5 separate regions of the Homo sapiens genome follow, and all the other regions are linked to region 1. The links are contacts of gene promoters, found by promoter capture Hi-C in human tissues and cell types (Jung and others, 2019). All regions are on one chromosome and are shown on one strand. The core of a region is centred on a gene start or on the middle of the fragment in contact, and the rest is flanking DNA. Distances in the headings are between cores, read along the strand shown. Region 1 holds the start of EMX2 (empty spiracles homeobox 2). Region 2 has its middle 43 kb from the start of LINC02674. Region 3 has its middle 27 kb from the start of LINC02674. Region 4 overlaps LINC02674 (long intergenic non-protein coding RNA 2674). Region 5 has its middle 60 kb from the start of LINC02674.

Region 1 (2,707 bases), core at 73-2,572:
ATGCCGCCGCGCGAGCCAATGGGGACGAGGGAACTCGGTCCTAAAATCATCCCAAAACCGAAGGCGAGCTCGAAAATGCGGACACGGCCCGGGACCGGAGATGCGATCCGTAGTCGTTAGTTGCACTGGGTTTGCACAGCAACCACCACCCCCCCACCAACCCCGGGACAACAGATGGCATAATAATAATAATAGAAATAATAATAATAAAATAATATCATCTATAATAATAATAACATTGACCACACTGACAAAAATAATTACGACGGAACCTTAATAGTACAGTAGCACCATATCGGGCTCTCCCCTGACCTTGGACTGCCGGTCCCAGATATTCCAGAAGGAATTGTTTTGGGGAAGGAGGTGAGCACCCTCCCAGACAGAAAACGCTAGAGACCGTGGGGCGAGAGAGGGAGAGAGTTGGAAGCCCACTGCTCCGGCGGGGTCGGCAGCTCCCGGTCTCAACTCGCAAACGAACGAGCCGGGTCAAGAATCGCGAACGCACCGACCCTGGGACCTCGAGGCTAAGCGTGGTTGATGGGGTGGGAGGACCCCGTACCCCTCACTCCAGGATCCCTCCTGGCCTAGGAAACCGCTGGGAGTTTTGCTAAGTGTGGGGATTGGTATAACCGAACGGCGCCTTTAGCCCGGGAACCAGCCCCTGCCCGCTTACCCTCGCGGTGCTCTTGGGGCGATCCCAGTTCTCCCGACGCGGGGCCGCGTAAGGCAGCAGCGGCGGAGCGCTAGGCTAGAGGAATCTGTCTGTCCTTCTGTCCTACCAGCTTGGGCGAGGCAGGCTCGGGATTCAGGGGGCCGCAGCGGAGGCGGCGCCGGCCAGGGACTCTGCAGGGACCGGGGTGCCCCGGAGGGAGTGGTGCTGGTGGAGGAGGAGGCGGTGGCTGAGGGGGAGTAGGTGGGGAAAGAGGAGGAGGAAGAAGAGGAGGAGGAGGAAGAAGAGGAGGAGGAGGAGAAGAAGAAACTGGAGGAAGAGGAGGAGGCGAAGGAGGAGGAGAAGCCGCAGCGGGCGCCGCAGGAGCGAGTGAGCTGGGAGCGAGGGGCGAAGGCGCGGAGAAGCCCGGCCGCCCGGTGGGCGGCAGAAGGCTCAGCCGAGGCGGCGGCGCCGACTCCGTTCCACTCTCGGCCCGGATCCAGGCCTCCGGGTTCCCAGGCGCTCACCTCCCTCTGACGCACTTTAAAGAGTCTCCCCCCTTCCACCTCAGGGCGAGTAATAGCGACCAATCATCAAGCCATTTACCAGGCTTCGGAGGAAGCTGTTTATGTGATCCCCGCACTAATTAGGCTCATGAACTAACAAATCGTTTGCACAACTTGTGAAGAAGCGAACACTTCCATGGATTGTCCTTGGACTTAGGGCGCCCTGCCCGCCTTTTGCAGAGGAGAAAAAACTTTTTTTTTTTTTTGCCTCCCCCGAGAACTTTCCCCCCTTCTCCTCCCTGCCTCTAACTCCGATCCCCCCACGCCATCTCGCCAAAAAAAAAAAAAAAAAAAAAAAAGAAAAAAAAAGAAAAAAAAAGAAAAAAAATTACCCCAATCCACGCCTGCAAATTCTTCTGGAAGGATTTTCCCCCCTCTCTTCAGGTTGGGCGCGTTTGGTGCAAGATTCTCGGGATCCTCGGCTTTGCCTCTCCCTCTCCCTCCCCCCTCCTTTCCTTTTTCCTTTCCTTTCCTTTCTTTCTTCCTTTCCTTCCCCCCACCCCCACCCCCACCCCAAACAAACGAGTCCCCAATTCTCGTCCGTCCTCGCCGCGGGCAGCGGGCGGCGGAGGCAGCGTGCGGCGGTCGCCAGGAGCTGGGAGCCCAGGGCGCCCGCTCCTCGGCGCAGCATGTTCCAGCCGGCGCCCAAGCGCTGCTTCACCATCGAGTCGCTGGTGGCCAAGGACAGTCCCCTGCCCGCCTCGCGCTCCGAGGACCCCATCCGTCCCGCGGCACTCAGCTACGCTAACTCCAGCCCCATAAATCCGTTCCTCAACGGCTTCCACTCGGCCGCCGCCGCCGCCGCCGGTAGGGGCGTCTACTCCAACCCGGACTTGGTGTTCGCCGAGGCGGTCTCGCACCCGCCCAACCCCGCCGTGCCAGTGCACCCGGTGCCGCCGCCGCACGCCCTGGCCGCCCACCCCCTACCCTCCTCGCACTCGCCACACCCCCTATTCGCCTCGCAGCAGCGGGATCCGTCCACCTTCTACCCCTGGCTCATCCACCGCTACCGATATCTGGGTCATCGCTTCCAAGGTACGTGCCACGTCGCGGAACTGCAGCGCGCCGCTCCCGCCGCATCCTTCACTGCCCCCGGCCTGCTCCGGGTGGGCGCTTGGCAAGGCCTGGGCGGAGGTTCCTCCGGCTCGCGGGCCAGCGCGCCCTGTTGGGAAACTAGGCGGCGCGGGGCCGGGCGTGGTGTCGATCCCCAGTCTCCGAAGCTACGACTGGTTTGGAGTGATGGCCTGCGGGCCGCTTGACCCTTTGGGAAGGGGTGCGAACGGAGAAGTTGTCCCCCAGTGCGCTCGAATCAGAGCAGGCTGGGCTGTGCGTGCCCGGCGCCGCGGAGCCCAGAGCCCGCGGGATCCCCAGGCTCCTGGTACCCTCGGCAATGCCCCCAACCGTCCTGGCTCCGAGGGGCGCGGACAGGACTCGGCCGCCAGGCTTGCTTTCGACTGCGTTCGACCCTGTTCACCACCCACTTTGCGCCCCT
Region 2 (2,707 bases), core at 87-2,586, 240 kb after region 1:
CTCAGGGCCTTCCCTTCCTGAGAACTTCATGCCCTTTTCCAATTATCCATGTTTTTCTAGAGGAAGCAATGCAAGAGTCTGCTGAGAAAAATTAAACAAGATCATGAACTCGAAGGATGTGCGATATGTCTTAGCCATTCTAATTATGGACTTAAACTTAACAGCAGCCACATTTAATCAAACAACCAGATTCCAAGCATTTGGTTGGAGGCTGCATTAGGAAGAGTCACATGGAGGGAGCAGCTTAGGACTGCAAATCAGAATACTATCCAGGTGACCTTAAGTAGGTCACTGCCCCTCTCTGAGTCTCCTCATCTCTAAGATGGGGATAAAAATCCCGGGTCCTTGTACCAGGAATGTTGGGGAAATAAGTAGAACTATGGGAAAGAATAATAATTAACCACTTACATGGAAGGCTCTCCAGTTTCCCTACAGTTTTGTTTTTTTTTTGACGGAGTCTCGCTCTGTTGCCCTGGCTGAAGTGCAGTGGTGCGATCTCAGCTCACTGCAAGCTCTGCCTCCCAGGTTCATGCCATTCTCCTGAGTCAGCCTCCCGAGTAGCTTGGACTATAGGCACCCACCACCATGCCCAGCTAATTTTTTGTATTTTTAGTAGAGATGGGGTTTCACTGTGTTAGCCAGGATGGTCTCGATCTCCTGACCTCGTGATCTGTCCACCTCGGCCTCCCAAAGTGCTGGGATTACAGGCGTGAGCCACCATGCCCGGCCCCTTCCCTAGAGTTTTTACATCTACCTTTGGGTTTAGCAAAGGGTAATGTGAATCAAATATATAAACATAAAGGGGGTTTTATACTTCTTTAAATTATTTTCTGCTCATTTCATGTATTTCTTGTCTCCCTGATGAGTTCTTTTGGTAAATATTTACTGGGCATCTACTATGTGTGTGACTGGTAGATGGTAGAGATACAACCAGGAAAAACAGGTGTGGTCTCAGCTTTTACGGTGTTTATAGTCTAGTGGGGTGCCTACCAATAAAACCACCACATTCAATATACAGTTACAAATGTGATGAGTGCTGCGATGAAAAAAATAGAATGTGAGAGAATAAGAGAGAAGATCTGTCTTTGACAATTGTGGCGGGGAGGGAAGCTAGAGCTCTCTGAGGATATAAGATTTGTCCTGAGATGTGCAGAATGAATAAGAACTGGGGCCATGAGTGAGCAAGAAGAGAGGTCCAGGCAGAGGGAGGAGCAGGTACAAGGTTCTGCGGCAAAAAGAGGACCCAGGCTCTGGGAGCTCCCGAGGACAGAGCTGGGGTATTCTGCTTCCCTCTACACTGTATCTTGCTCCCTCCATCCCCACGACATCAAGGGCTTCTGGTCCAGTGTAGGGCACAGAGCTGGCTTTTCAGGGAGAATAACATGGTGGCCCTGGGGGCTGTTCCTCTGCAGTCCCATTTTCTTCCCTCTAAGGACAAGGTTGGGCTGCCTTTTTCTCCTAGATGAAATTGGACATGAACAAGTGACTTGCTTTGGCCGGTGGGATGTGGCCCAAAGTGAGGAGGGTCACTTTCTGGCAGAAGCTTGAAGATCTGGTGCTCAATTCGCCATGTTTCTCTCCCCTGCCACAAACTGGATATGTTCCACAGTGGAGGCTCTGTTGCCTTGAGTCCCCAAAGGAGAAGAATGCAGAACAGACCCCCCAACCCAGACTGACATGGAATATGAGCTCAAAATGAAGGTTCATTGTGCTCAGCCACTGAGGTTTTGTTGTGTTTTGTTTGACAGCACTGTACAAATTATAATATCCTATACAAGTTATTGTATGATAATGATGATGAGCGAGGGAGAGGGGAAGTGTAACAGGGAGGAAGTGCCCAGCATGAAGGTGTGTTGTTGAGTTTGCTGCTGTAGGTCTTGGGGGCTCAGCTGCCTGAAACTTGGGGAAGCCTGCAGACTGCCTTCCAGAATATTCTGGCTAAAGGACAGGACACCAGAGCATTTACCCACAGGCTCCATCCTTCATTGCTCAAAGGTTGCCCCAGCAGGGCTCATTCTCCCCCAACCTCACACTGAACTTGTAGGTGGGCTCCATGGGATTCCCTGATTTTGGAGAAGGTTCTAAAGCAGAGCCCGAGGTGGAGATACTCATCAGGCCCTTAACATAGAAACCTGCCAGCATGCAGAACACTACCCATTGCTTTTGGTGGTATCAAAGATGAAGTCAGAGACAGCTTGAGGGATGTGACACAGGACAGAGTCAGTATCTGCCACAGTTTGGCTTGCTGTGTTATCACTCCTTCTACTATTTGTGTTTTGAGAAGAGCCTGGGGGATAAGGTCACACAGCACTGAGGACGCAGACCATGAAAGTCGGAGAAAGGTACTGCTTCAGGAATTAAAGGTAGGTTTGCTCTGATGTCACCTCATCTAAGAAGCCCTCTCGGCTTCCCTCTACTGAAATATTTTTGCCTTCCTCTGAACTTCCCTCTGAACTCTCTTTTTGTCCCCAAGTAGAGCTATCTGCTCTGCCTGTGACTTCCCATGAATTTTCCTTACTAGATTGTCATATAGTTGAAGGCAGGACTCATTCCAGGCTCATATTCATGGACCTACTATGCCTAGCACAGTACTGGAACATGGAAAATACCCAACAGTTTTATTTTTTTGAGTGAAAGGACAAATGCATTTGAACTGGCACCAGTGAACCTATCCAGTTTTCTTTTTTTTCTTTTTTTTTTTTTTTGG
Region 3 (2,707 bases), core at 123-2,622, 220 kb after region 1:
TAATGGCATCTTATGACTTTCATTCATTTCTGCCTGTTTGCTTAGTTGCCCATTTCTAAACTTGTTCTAAACCTTGATGAGGAAAGTAAATGCTGAGCGGGCAGGTACCAACAGAGTGTATTTAAGTGAGAAATGACATACTGAATGAAAACAAATGAAAGAATGAAATCAGCAATTAATGAAGTCCACAAAAATATAAAGTCTGGTACTGAAGACCATCTCTCCCGAGCGCCAACAACGCTTTTCTTTGAAACTGGAAAAGACTCCTGGGGTCTGTGTGGCATCGGGCAGAAGGGACAGGGAGACCCTGGTGCAGTGAGTGGCTCAGGAAACAGGCACAGAAACAGAGTTCTGGCCAGCCACATGATCTGGGGCCAGTTATCCAGGTTTATGGGGCTTCTTTTCCCTTAATTATATGAAAGGAGCCAAAATTAGTTCCACTCTTTTAGGGCTGTGCTGGGCTTAAATGAGATAATTCACGGGATGTGCTTAGCACAGTGCCAGGCTCATAGGGAGCACTCAATAAAGAAAGGATAAATGCCTTTCTAATAACTAGACCCATTTAAAGATGGCACGGGCTTCCTTGGGGATGGGATGGTGAGTTCCCTGCCACAGGAAGTGCTTAAGAGGAGATAATGGGGTTTTCAGAGTTTCACGTGCAGGAGCAGATGAATCACCTGAGGAGAGCATCAGTAGATTCTGATTTAAATAGGTTCTGGGTGGGGCCTGAGAGTCTACATCTCTAACAAACTCAGGTGATGCTGTTGCTGCCAATTGGCCGTATGTGAGTAGCAAGGAACTAGATGATTCCTTAAAGGATGTTGAAGAAGATCTGTGATCATCCATCAGATGGAGTGATGTGTTAGGCTTCTGTTGTCCCATGCGGTGGCCTCTCACCACAGGTGACACTGAGCATTTGAAAGGAAGCTAATTGAATCCAAAAGGAGAAATTCTGTGAGTGTGAAATACACATTTAATATAACAAAAAGAATGTAAAATAATCCAATAATTTTTATAGTGATGACATGCTGAAATGATAATATTTTGGATATATTAAATTGCTGTTTTTCTTTTTTTGCTGTGGCTTCTACAGAATTTAAAATGATGTATGTGGTTCACATTCTATTTCTGTTGGACAGTGATGAACTGGGTCATCTCCCAGGTCCCTTCTGAATGTGAGCACCCCGTGAACACTCTAAGATGACATACAAGCTTGTCCACGTGTGCATCTCCTGCGGAATGTTTGTAGCTTATTTCCTCCCACAGCTAAAGGCAGCCAGCAGAGAGACAGAGGGAGAGAGGCGCTAGGCTTTCCTTAGCTTCCTTTCTGCCTGGGGCGGGGGTGAAGAGTGAGGAGGGAGCTTGTGCGTTTGTCTTTGCTTCTTTCTCCCCATTTTTCTCTCTCAAAATTAATGGGAGACAAAATGCCTTGTCACTCTAGGGATATTCAATTTTTACCTTGAAACTGCCTTTCTGGACAGAGGCAAACCTTGTCTTCAGCACAGAGCTCCTTGCTAAGGGAACTGGAATTTTTACATCACCGTCTAAAATAAAGATGGCTGCCCGGGGGAGGCGTTCGTTTCCTTTGAGAGTTACGTGGTTAGGAACCTGGCGGGCGGAGGCCCTGGCAATGCCCATGGATGCAATGCCGTCACCTAGAAAGTTGTCTGGTGGACCAGGCTGTAATGTGCCTGAAGGGCTGGGGAGCAGAACTGTAGCCCTGCAAACCATGGGGCAACCAGAGCCGTGGGACAGGCAGCTGCTAGTTCAGGTCCCACCGCTGCAGACTTAGCATCATCTCATATGGCTTTGCGTGAGACCCTGCAGAGTGAGCCGTTAAGAGCCTGAATCCAGTCCTTATTCCTTTCTAGCTGGATGACTTCAGATAAGTGATACAAACTCTTTGTGCCTTGATTTTCTTATCTGTAAAATAGTGATGACAGTTATACCCACCTCATGGAGTTGTGAGAATTAATGAGTTAATATGGTAAAGGGTGGAGAATAGCTCCCAGCACAAGGTAAGGATAGACACGTACTGCCTGTTATTCTGAGATAATAAGAGCTCCCTGAATGGCAGCGTCTTTTTTTGGCTGGCAAATTACTCAGAAAACCCCCCTAAATTGCACACTTGTTTGAGTAAGAGTCAGGTCCCGTGTGGCAATGATGTAACATACCTATTTTTGGCAGACTTGGCAATTCAGGGAGTGACCCATTTTCCTGTGCTTCGTGGAGGTCATTGCAATGGGTTTCATCAACCAGCAGGCTTGGAAATGAGCCATAGGGTTAGAAGGAGCTTTTTCTACCACTCTAGACTGCTTTCACGGCGGTGCAGCTTATGTCAGGATTGGGGAGAGGGTGAAAGGATGCTGCCATGATGACACCACGTTCAGAATGATGGCCATGGAGACGGGTGGAGCAGTGGAACACATGTTCTTCACCCGACTCCCGCGGGGGACATTGGCTGCATCACAGGAAGTAGAAGTGTTTTTGTTTGTTTGCTTAGTTTTTGTCGTGGTAAATGCAACCTTGAGTTTCTAGGTGTCCACAGGACCTTTGGAAGATTCATGACAGCAACAAGGTGTTGTGAAGCTCCTGCTCTGGTGAGGCCCCAGCTCCCATCAGAGGATCAGAAGGTTCCCAAGTACCCCAGGACAAGAAGTGAGCTGTGTGGTTAGGGACCCTTGTCTGCAAGAACTTCTTAAAGAGT
Region 4 (2,707 bases), core at 55-2,554, 200 kb after region 1:
ACGAATAGGTTCTTTTATTGTCCCCTTCTTATAGGAGGAAACTGAGGCTCAACACAGAAACAGATCACATGGCCAGGAGGTTGCAGGATCTGGGCTTGGAACCAGGACCTACACTCCTAACCATTATGCTGCACTGCCCCTCTGTTTCAGTCCCCAAAAGGGATAGGACACAGCCTCAGCCCTCTTGGGGCACAAAGCCACAGAAGCAAACAGAGAAGGTGGGTGGGAGGGGGTAGCTCCCTGCATAGGAGATCAGTAGCGACATATTACGGCTCTTACTACATACCAGGCCCTGTTCTAACTGGTTGACACATACTGTTAGCTGTTGAAATCTTCGCAGCAACCCTAGGTGGTGGGGAGTAACATCACCCCCATTTTATAGGTGAGGCAGATCCTGCTGCTTGCCCATGATCGCGGGGCTAGAAACTGGCAGAGCTGGGACTTGAACTCGGAGACCCTTTGCTCCAGGGTCCCTGCTGTTACCCTCATCCTGCATGAGGCCTCTGTCGGAGAGTCATGGTGCCCAAGTGCTGATGTGCAGGCAGCCCAGAGGGTGCTGAGTCTCTGATTGCTCAGGTGTTACGAAAAACACCCTGTGCTTAGAGTTCGAAGACCTGGCTTAGAGCCCCAGAGCTGCTGCTTCCTAACTGAAACCCTTGGGGAATCTCCATTTCCTTGTTTGTAAACGGGGGTAATGAGGTCAGCTCTACCTGCCCCCCAGGGCCACCGTGAATGAGGATTAAAGAAGATAATATACAGGGAAGCGCTCTGTGAAGTGCAAACTGCTGACCTCAGAAACACTCAGTTCCATGGCTCTGGTCCATGCTGGGCCCACCTCAAAGTTCATGCCCTCTAGTTCAGGATGCATGGCCCATGGAAAATGAAGAAGTGATTTTAAAAAATTGCAAAACGGCTATAAAAATAAGACAGTGAGATGTCTCATTTGATGATGCAGATTATTAGAGAATTAAATCTGTTACTTTAAAAAAAAATCTTTTTCTAGAAGGATTGGATTCAAAGGCACCTGGGTCAACACTTGCAGATGCCTGCAGGCCAGGCCTGGTGCTGGTGCTTTATGTGGTCAACCCCAGTGGGCCTTCTGCAGCCCTGGGAGTCGAGACTGAAATTGCATCCATTTTATGGGCCAAGACATTGAAAGGTGAAAGAACTGGAGCTAATGAACAGAGGAGCTGGTCTCTGAACCAAGTGCAGCTGACTCCAATCCCCGCAGCTTTGTTGCAGCTCTGCAGAATCCTCACACCAGCTTGGGGAGAAGGCTGCCTTTCTCTTCTGCTTCAGAACTTTCCGCTTTAGCTGCACATATATCTTGAGTGACTCCTCCCCACAACCTCAGCACTTTCATGTTTTTCAGCCCTTCTTATTGTTTTTTTTTGTTTTGTTTTTTTAATATTTTTAGTTTTTGAGAGTCTTGCTCTGATGCCCAGGCTGGAGTGCAGGGGTGTGATCTCAGCTCACTGCAACCTCCATCTCCCAGGTTCAAATGATTATTGTGCCTCAGCCTCCTGAGTAGCTGGGATTACAGGTGCGCATCACCACACCTGGCTGGTTTTTGTATTTTTGTAGAGATGGGGTTTCACCATGTTGGACAGGTTGGTCTTGAACTCCTGGCTTCAGGTGATCTGCTCGCCTTGGCACCCCAAAGTACTGGGATTGTAGGCATGAGCCACCGTGCCCAGCCCAGCCCTCCCTATTCTTAGGGCATCTACCACCCACATAATACCCCTGTTGAGTGTCTGGCGGCCAATTCCACAACCTGTCCACCTACCCAGCAGCTCGCTGCTTTTGTGTTAAAGGCTTGTGGTCAACACCCTGGACTTGAGCAAGGTGCAAGGCAAGGGAACACGCTCCGTCCCAGGTGCTCGCTGTGGGCCTGGACCTCCCCCAGTGTGAGCAACACCTTGGAGGGCCAGGATGCATGTGTTCGAGAGGCGGTGTAGCCTTGGGTTTCTCTCCACATTCACATCAGACCTGCCTCTGGCCCCAGGGGCTGAATTTATTTTGGCTTAAATGACAGGGTGGTCCGAAATAGTAAAAATACTCCCTTCATGAAGCCACTGGGTGAATCTAGTAAGGTTGTGAAGGGGATGTCAGCTGCCTCTGGGATTGTGGTGCCACTCTAAATGGGCTGCTGGGCCCTGGCATGGTGCTCAGGTTACCGGTGACTTTACCGGGATGCCAATATGCCCTTGGGAGGGTTCCTGCCTTTAGACCATGACTTCCAAGGAGGCCGATTTAGGCTGTATGATGGGGCATGAGGACGACGAAGGTATGTTCACTGCTTGCTTTGAACTCATGGGTGACCAAGAGCAACTCCATGCTGAATGAGTGCAAGAATGGGAATGAGGAGTCACTGGGGATGGAGGCCCCATTCCTTGCTTACTAGCTTGAGCAAATTATATTATTTCTCTATGCCTCAGTTTCCTCATCCATAAAGGTAAGGTCGTAACTGGATTGGGAGGAGTCAATTATGCAATATATAGAAAAGCATTTTGAATGGTGTTTGCCACAGAATAAGCAGGCAATAACTATTAGCTGACCCCAAAATATCAGCTTGACATTATCTTCTCTATGCACATTTGCCTTCCCATTCAAAATACGTAACACACAACAGTCACAAAGTGGAATGCCTTTTCAACTACATGTTGACAAGAGATGAGCCAGAAGTATATTCCTGGTTTCACCACTT
Region 5 (2,707 bases), core at 66-2,565, 130 kb after region 1:
ACAAACCTGAAAAGTAGGTATTATTGTCACCACTTGCAGATGAGAAAGCCAAGACCCAGGGAGGTCAAGTGACTCGTCCAAGGCCACACAGCTAGGAAATAGCAGAGCTGGTTTGCAAACGTGTCAGCCTGCCTCCAAAGTTCACGATTTTTCCATTTCTCCAAGCTGACTCCTGTCTATTCAGGTGAAGGGAGCTGCGGTGTGATGCTTACTTGCACCAAAGGTTTTTAGTGTGGACTCTCTAAAATGGGATGCAAGAGATAACAAGAATGAGAGCTCGAGAGACAGGCTGTGTGTGTGTGCATATGTGTGTGTGTGTGCATGAGTGCATGTTTAGGAGAAGGTCCCACAGCTTTCATCAACCTTTGTAATGCCCCAAAGGCCATGATTATCTGCCACTCCATCCTCTATAGATTTCCTTGGAGAAAATCACAGAACCCAGGCATGTAGTTTCTGTGTCCATTATGAGATACCATGTGAAATTCTCAAGGTGTTCACAGCTTAACTGAGCTACTATCTTGGAACACAAGTAAAGGGTAATATTGTTCTGCAGAACACAGAGACCTCTGCTTTCTATAAGGAAAATGTTACAGAGCTCATCTTATCGCCTGGCTCTTAGAGCATGAACGGTTTGAAAGCTTGTGGCGCAGACACGGCCTGTGGCTTATCTCAAAGACAGGGAACAGTGGGGCTCAGAGGAGAGTGGGAAAATCCTGTTTGTTTCTCTTTATTCCTGGGGACTTGCAGAGACCTAGCAGTGAGCTGGCTCTAAGAACAGAGGCCCGCCTCCCCGCCCATCCTCGAAAACTGATTCCTCCTCAGGTTCCTAACAATTGGTGTTTTATCACATTTCCACATGCAAAATGTGTGCCATTCTTCATTAGATTTTCAAGGCTCAGATTGATGAGGGCAAGGTAAGAGCCAGACACAAGGTATAAGAGACAAGGTTTAGTAATGAGTTTGAAATTTACAAAACACAGAAGCAAATATGGCTTCAATACACGACGTGACCCCTTATAAGGCTGGAAATTACTCTTCAAAAATCATTCTGGCCTGACTTCAGAGTCGAGTGGATGCTGGGATACCACAGATTGACTTTGAGAAGTGGGTTGGTATTGCAGGAATTTTTTAATTTCCTGTAACTCACAACAATTTTCTCCCAGTGAGACTTAGAGTCACTCCTGCGATGGTGCGCTGACCGCATTTGCTGAACAATCTGCTGCAAGAACCAGCTCAAGCAGAAAAGGAATATGTCAGGAGGAAGGGGACAAATGGGATTACCTTAATAAAAGTCATTAAAGGTTTTGAAAAGTATTTCCAGGTAAACGAGGGACCTGTTGCTTAAACAAATGTGTCCAGGTAAACGAGGGGCCTGCTACTTATGTATTTCAAAAAGTGAAATAAAAATGGCATCACTTACACTTCTGAACTGAAAAGAATTTGGGGAAAGCAGATTATTATGAATTATTTTTAATAGCTTCTTAATTAGCCCTTCAAACAGGTTTTTCAAAATCCCCAAAGGTGTCTAATTTGCATGACATGTTTTTACTTTTCTACGCATCTCATTAGCAGCACTTTGTTTTTTTAACCTAACAGCAAGATGGTATTACAACACTTTCAGAAGGTGGACCAAGAAAAGACAAGAAGAGAAAAAAGAAAAGAAAAGGAAAAAATCCTTAAATTATTGCTCCAAAAAAGTCCTGCGTTTCTTTTTCCATCTTCATGATGTCTTGCTATATTATCTCAGGGCACTCATTGGAGCTTATCTGTCTTTCAGAAATCACTAAACAAATCCGTCAGAGCAAAACCGTGGTGTGGAGGATGGTCTATTGGATGCGATCCACTGGGGCAAAGATTTATTAGGCGGACAACCCCTTCTTCTACCCAACAGCAAATCCATTACAATAATGGGCTTCGAACCCATCTGCAGGCAAACAGCGGGTCAGGAGGAGCCCGATGTGTGGACACTGAGCAATCTGAACATGGCTGCCTTTTACAATGTGTGAAGCCAGGCAGAAAAGCAGCACATTTGATTGAGAACAGAGGAGAGCGGCCAGAATCTGCCTTCCCTTTGCTCCCGCTTCCGGGGGGATTCATGGCGGGGGATCTGGAGGCGACACTTGGCAGCCAAGGGCGTGGGGCCAAATGGAGGGCCCGGAACTCAGAAAGAGAGGAGGGGGAGCTAATTAATGCTTTGTCCTGCCTGCCCTTCTCTCCTCCCTACCCCCAGCGGCCAACAACTACCACCACCATAATACTAAAGAGCAATATTATCTGGTGCTTACCATGTGCTAGTTCTTGTGCTAAGTGCTTTCCTGGAATTTTCTCCTCTTTATCCTGGCAGCAAAATAAACCCTATTTGTTAGCCCCATTTAACAGATAATAGCTATTTAATAGCTACTTGTATTGAGTACTTCTGTGTGGCAGGGCCTGTACTTTATTTGTATTAATTCAATTAATCACCACAACAGCCACTGGCATGGGTACTATTTTGGTCCCCATTTTACAAATGAGGAAAAGGAGGCAAAGAGACGTAACTTGACTTGGTCACACAACTGTGATCAGCAGAGATGGGATTTCAACCCAGGTTGTGGGACACCATCTGTTATCATCCCTCAAGGCCCATCCTAGTTGCCTCTTTCCTCCAGGAAGCCTTCTCTGACTTTCCCACAGATCTGCGTATCTCATTCTTCCTCAGCCATATTTC

The links. Contacts are between HindIII fragments. The study calls those that stand out against the background at their distance.
Region 2: a fragment that was not itself captured here is called in contact with the fragment with the promoter of EMX2 in region 1 in 1 of the 25 tissues and cell types used here (lymphoblastoid cells).
Region 3: a fragment that was not itself captured here is called in contact with the fragment with the promoter of EMX2 in region 1 in 1 of the 25 tissues and cell types used here (lymphoblastoid cells).
Region 4: a contact is called between a fragment that was not itself captured here and the fragment with the promoter of EMX2 in region 1, in 1 of the 25 tissues and cell types used here (H1 embryonic stem cells).
Region 5: a contact is called between a fragment that was not itself captured here and the fragment with the promoter of EMX2 in region 1, in 1 of the 25 tissues and cell types used here (H1 embryonic stem cells).

The regions. Positions count from the first base shown.
Region 1 is chr10:117,541,424-117,544,130 of GRCh38, forward strand. It overlaps EMX2 (empty spiracles homeobox 2), which reads left to right and starts at 1,323. Exons shown (of 3, transcript NM_004098.4): 1 at 1,323-2,250. The coding sequence starts at 1,845. It also overlaps EMX2OS. RefSeq lists an enhancer at 2,538-2,707. The HindIII fragment of the contact is 12,526 bases long and covers 1-2,707 here.
Region 2 is chr10:117,776,976-117,779,682 of GRCh38, forward strand. No RefSeq gene overlaps it. Among named protein-coding and RNA genes, the nearest start is that of LINC02674, 43 kb to the left of the region's middle. The HindIII fragment of the contact is 5,618 bases long and covers 1-2,707 here.
Region 3 is chr10:117,760,672-117,763,378 of GRCh38, forward strand. No RefSeq gene overlaps it. Among named protein-coding and RNA genes, the nearest start is that of LINC02674, 27 kb to the left of the region's middle. The HindIII fragment of the contact is 4,904 bases long and covers 1-2,707 here.
Region 4 is chr10:117,737,314-117,740,020 of GRCh38, forward strand. All of the region lies in intron 2 of LINC02674 (long intergenic non-protein coding RNA 2674), which reads left to right. Among named protein-coding and RNA genes, the nearest start is that of LINC02674, 3.7 kb to the left of the region's middle. The HindIII fragment of the contact is 8,709 bases long and covers 1-2,707 here.
Region 5 is chr10:117,673,724-117,676,430 of GRCh38, forward strand. No RefSeq gene overlaps it. Among named protein-coding and RNA genes, the nearest start is that of LINC02674, 60 kb to the right of the region's middle. The HindIII fragment of the contact is 3,786 bases long and covers 1-2,707 here.